Linked DNA regions of Homo sapiens: region 2 is linked to region 1. The links are contacts of gene promoters, found by promoter capture Hi-C in human tissues and cell types (Jung and others, 2019). All regions are on one chromosome and are shown on one strand. Each heading gives the region's core, a stretch centred on a gene start or on the middle of the fragment in contact. The rest is flanking DNA. Distances are from core to core; before and after follow the strand shown. Region 1 holds the start of KIF1A (kinesin family member 1A). Region 2 overlaps SEPTIN2 (septin 2).

The links. Contacts are between HindIII fragments. The study calls those that stand out against the background at their distance.
Region 2: a fragment that was not itself captured here is called in contact with the fragment with the promoter of KIF1A in region 1 in 1 of the 25 tissues and cell types used here (dorsolateral prefrontal cortex).

Annotation. Positions count from the first base shown.
Region 1 is chr2:240,818,942-240,821,641 of GRCh38, forward strand. It overlaps KIF1A (kinesin family member 1A), which reads right to left and starts at 1,278. Exons shown (of 49, transcript NM_001244008.2): 1 at 1,181-1,278. RefSeq lists an enhancer at 1,690-2,264. The HindIII fragment of the contact is 12,815 bases long and covers 1-2,700 here.
Region 2 is chr2:241,345,903-241,348,602 of GRCh38, forward strand. SEPTIN2 (septin 2) reads left to right here. Exons shown (of 13, transcript NM_004404.5): 10 at 264-347; 11 at 2,232-2,289. Among named protein-coding and RNA genes, the nearest start is that of FARP2, 9.0 kb to the right of the region's middle. The HindIII fragment of the contact is 3,473 bases long and covers 1-2,700 here.

The sequences.
Region 1 (2,700 bases), core at 28-2,527:
CCAGTCTCTGGGGGAAAGTCCCTATTCCCGGGGACGTGGGCGCGCATCGGGTCCGCGCCGGGCGACGTCGCGCTCGCGCCCAGCAGGCCCCATGACTTGGCATTCCCTCCTTCCCCTCCCCCTCCCGCCCCTGCGGCCGGCAGGGCCCCCCCAACCCCACCTACCGGCGCCCAGCGCCCCGCTCCTGCGGACCCTCCCTCCCGGCGGGGATGCTGCCCCGGCCCTTCCCAGCGAGAGGGCAGCGCGGCTGGTTTGGGGGAAGTCAGCGTGAGGAGCGGCTTAAAGCGGGAGTGCGAAGGTCTTCGCGGCCACTGTTCCTTCGTGTCATCCGAGCCCGGGCGCCGGGGGCGCGCCGCCAGCCTAGACCCTGCGGCCCCGCAGCCCCTCCCTCGCCGCCGGGCCACACCTGTTACAGGGGCGCTGGCTGCTGAGACGCAGGCAGTGCTCGCCGGCGGCCCCTCCCAGGTGCTGGGTCTTTCTGGAAGGGAGCTGGGGTCTCTGGCGTGGGAGGGGGTGATGGGCAGGCCGGCCGTGCAACGAAGCGGGTGGCCAGGCCCCAACGCCGCAGCCCCCGCCCCGCCCGCCTGTTTTGCTCCCGGCTCCAGCATCCGCCCTCCCCCACCCCGGGAACCGGAGCAGCTGCCCGCGCCCGGCCGCCCTGCGCGCTCTCCCCTCGGGCCGAGGCGCTGCAGCCGCGCACCCTCCCAGGTGCGGCGTCAGCGTCCTCAGCCCCGCTCACCATCCCTCCCCTCCCCCGCCGTCTGGGCGCAGCCCCTCCCGCAGCCCCGCCGGTGGCTCCTCTCCAGGGAAGCGGAATAGCCGGGGAAGGGCGGGGGTATCCCGATCCCGCCGGCCGGGCGAGCCCTCCCGAGGGCGACCCCCGCCCGCCTAAGCCGAGGGTCCCGCTGCAGCCGAGATCGCGGCAAAGGGACCTTTTCCAGCGGCACCTGAAGGGCGGACACCCCTGAATTTCCCCCATTGTTCTCTGCGGAGATGGAGGAAGGTCTGGAAGTGAAGGGGCCTCGCAGTGCCTGCGCTTTGGGCGGCAACAAGGGCGCCGGGCCGGAGCTCCCCGCCCTGGGCGCAGTGGGTGCAGGTGCGGGCTGCGGGCGCGGGCTGCCGGGCGCAGGTGCGGGGCGAGGGGCGCGGGCGCGGGAGGCCGGGCGGGCGGCGGCCTTACCTCTCCGGCGTCACTGGCGGCGGCCCCGCATGGGCACTGGCATGGGCGCGGGCTCTCGAGCCCGGAGCTGCTGCCGCTCGCCGGCTGCTCTGCGCTGTGACGGCGCCGCCGCGTGACGGGCTGCGCGCCCCCGGCCCGGACCGCCCCGCGCCCCTCCCGAGGCGCTGGTTGGCTGCGCGCGGCGTCCGAGCTCCAGTCGCCAGCTGGTTTGTCGCGCGGGGAGAGGGACGGGCGACGCGGCCGCCGCGGGGATGGGGCTGGGGACGGAGGGGGCCGGGGCCGGGCTGTGACGTCACCGCTGACACCGCGGCGGGCCCCGCGGAGGGTGGGGGACCGACACCCGGCTCGGACGCAGCGTCCCCTCCCCCGGCGTGCCCCTGAGACCTCGCGGGGGAGGGACCCGGCGGCGCCCCGTCCCGAAGCCCCGCGTGCACCTGAACTTGCCCGCGGACCCCTCGCCGGGCCGTCCCCCACCCTGGCCCCTTTCGAGTGAAATCGTAAAACGTCCACCTGCCCCCGCTCTGAGCCAGCGACAGACGCATCGTGGGGGGCGGGCGGGGCTGGGGAGGGAGGGCTCCTTGCGCCAGGGATGCTGGCTCCGGGTGTAACAGGTGCGCGGTGAAATCGCATCTTGTGTCGGGGCCGGGGCGCCGGGGGAAGAGCAGCAGTGACCCAGGCCCTCCCCGCCGGATGATGCAACCCGCCCGCGGACCCGCCGCCTCGCCTCTACCGCGGCTCGTGGGGACCCCCCGCCCTCCTCTCGCCCCACCTCTCCAGGCCCCCATTGTCCTCACCCCAGCCTGTCCAGTTTAACTTCCTTGGACCCCCAAGTCACACGCCGCTCGGGGGCCACCCCGGCAAACCCCAGCCTGCGTCACCCGCCCCCAGCCGCCTTCCTAGTTCCAGGGGCTGACTGGTATCTCTGTGCGCGCCACCGTCCTCCCTCCACCGTCCCAGGGCTGGGCAACTTCGACAAAGCCTCTGGGCAGCTCGCCCATGGGAACCTCCCCGCACTGCGGTGCGGGGGTGCACGGATTTCGGGCCACCCTGAACCCCGGGGCTGGGTCCCCTCCAGCCCAGCCCCTGCCATCGAGCCCCTGCCATGGGCATCCTGGCGTCGCCTGGCTAAGCCTCCCTGGCGCCCAGCAGGGGCCTGCGCTGCCCTAGCGGCCTCGCCGTTAACCATTTCATCCACACTCCTGGGAGAGCCGGCTTCACCTCAGTCCCGACAGCTGCGTGCGAGCGCCTTGCAGGTGGCTGGGGGAGATTCACATCCACTTCTGCAAGACACGGGCCCCCCACTCCCAGCCCCAGCCCCGCCGAAACCAGCTAGACAGCTCCTCCTCCTTCACTATTTCCTGGAACCGCCGGCATGAAAGAGAAATCAATTGTTCTTCCTAACCCTGGCAGAAACAATAAAACCATCTGGGCTTCTGGGGCTGGGGTCTTTATCACCTCCGTTTTCCTCATGCTTTTTAATCTGGCAAGTTCTCTATTTCTCGAGGCAATAGACATTTTTC
Region 2 (2,700 bases), core at 167-2,666, 530 kb after region 1:
GTGCCTCTAGCAGAAATCCCCCTGAGAGACTCAGTCGAGACCTGTGTTTGTATATCATTTATTGGGGAAGAAAGGGAGAGCTACACCTCACTAGACATTTCCACGGCCATACTCATTATCCTGAAATCCCAGCAGCTTTATGTACAATTTACCAAGTAATTTTAATTACTGCTATTTCTTCTATGTACTTGATGGGTGGTTTTTTTTCTCATGAGAATGTCATGTGCATGATGCCACCTTGGTGCATTCCTCTTCTCTTTCAGCACCCACATGCAGGATCTCCAGGAGGTGACCCAGGACCTTCATTATGAAAACTTCCGTTCTGAGAGACTCAAGAGAGGCGGCAGGTCATCACACTGTGCCCCTTTCTCTGTATTGTGTCACCCTGAGCCACAATGTTCCTCCTCCTCTATGTGTTCAGCTCAGCCTTCTTGACCATTAAGCAACATGGTTTGGTTTCCTACTCAAAAGTTATTATAAAAGAGTTGTTAATTTAATCAAATTATGCTCTTTTAGCCTTTTTAAGAAAAAGTACATTTAATGATATGCACGTAAAAACTTTAGGCCAGGCACGGTGGCTCATGCCTGTAATCCCAGCACCTTGGGAGACCAAGGCAAGGTAGATTGCCTGAGCGCAGGAGTTTTGAGACCATGAGATTACATGGTGAAGTCCCATCTCTACAAAAATTTAAAAAAAAAAAAATTAATTTAGCCGGGCATGGTGGCACACACCTATAATCCCAGCTACTCGGGAGGCTGAGTTGGGAGGAGCAGTTGAGCCTGGGAGGTGCAGTGAGCCATAATTGCACCACTGCACTTTATCCTGGGCAATAAAACAAGACCCTGTCTCAAAAAACAAACAAAAACTTTAGATGGAAAGGCCAGAGGCTTGTGTCGAGTTCTCCTTCAAAAGCATCACTCTGTACGTGAGGACAAACTTGTTGCCATTAGGAAACTGCAGCACCTGAGTTAAGGGTGAGGCCAGGATGAGTGGCATCCAAGCAGCCAGTGGCCGTTGAAGCAGCAGCTTCGATCCTCGCAAAGTCCTGCAGCCATCCTCACTCACCTTTTCTTTTTAACCATTCTAATATGTTTTTATATAAGTTTTCTGGGAGGCCAAGGCAAGTGGATCACTTGAACCCAGTAGTTTGAGACCGGCCCTGGCAACATAGGGAGACCTCGCCTCTATAAAAATTTTTTTTAAATTAGCCAGATGTGGTGGTGCATGCCTGTGGTCCCAGCTACTAGGGGGAGGATTCCTTGAGCCCAGTAGGTCCAGGCTGCAGTGAGCTATGGTCGCACCACCACGCTCCAGACTGGGCAACAGAGTGAGACCCTGTCTCAACAACAAAAGTTTCCTGTGTTGTAATTCATTAAAATTCTCACATTCTAATAATTTGATGGATTTCTAGATACATATGTTGTACACATTGAAGTCTAATTATGAGTTTGGAAATGAGACATTAAGAAAGATTTTAGAGGCAGCAAGAAAATTCCACCCTCTGGAAGCTGAGTAGGCGCTGGCCCTGAGATGGAGATTAGTGTGCTTTGCAGAGCACAGTTCTCAGGTGTGCTTGGGGAGCTTACCCTTTGCCCCTCGTTCACTCACGCAGATCCTGCTCCTTAAATGTGGTGACTACATTCGCATTAATAAAGAATAACATCTCAAAGCAAATTCTTCAGATAATACCTATTTTTGAGTGGGTAACAGCAAGTGTTGTCGCTCAAGCTTAGAGTAAGAAAAGTCTCTTGAATGTTCCATTTCATGTTGTTCGAACTTTTTAAAATCATTCTGTTCCCTTTTTATTCATTATATCTTTAATTAGAAAAATGATAGGCTGGGCGTGGTGGCTCATGCCTGTATTCCCAGCACTTTGGGAGGCCAAGGTGGGCGGATCACTTGAGGTTCAACACCAGCCTGGCCAACGTGGCAAAACCCCATCTCTACTAAACACAAAAAAAATTAGCTGGGCGTGGTAGCACGTGCCTGTAATGCCAGTTACCCAGGAGGCTAAGGTGGGAGAATTGCTTGAACCTAGGAGGTGGAGGTTGCAGTGAGCCAAGATCATGCCACTACACTCCAGCCCGTGCGACAGAGTGAGACACCATCTCAATATAAAAAGAGAAATGATAAATACATGTCATTTTAAATTTTAAAGTAGAATTTTTTGGGGGGGTAGCAAATAACTATTTGTTGCAGTGTTATGATTCTGATTTCTTTCGATTCTTAGGAAAGTGGAGAATGAGGACATGAATAAAGACCAGATCTTGCTGGAAAAAGAAGCTGAGGTAAGTAGGAAAGTACTATTGGTTGGTTGGTTGGTTGGTTGTTTTGTTTGTTTTGAGACAGAGTTTTGCACCATTGCCCAGGCTGGAGTGCAGTGGCGTGATCTCGGCTCACTGCAACCTCTGCCTCCCGGGTTCAAGTGATTCTCCTGCCTCAGCCTCCCGAGTAGCTGGGACTACAGGTGCCCGCCACCATGCCTGGCTAGTTGTTTTTGTATTTTTAGTAGAGACGGGGTTTCATCATGTTGGCCAGGCTGGTCTCGAACTCCTAACCTCAGGTGATCTGCCCACCTTGGCCTCCCAAAGTGCTGGGATTACAGGTGTGAGCCACCGTGCCCAGCCAAAAAGTACTATTCTTGTGACTGAAGGTGTTTTGTTTACATCCGTAGATATCATTGGTAATTAACTTAAAGT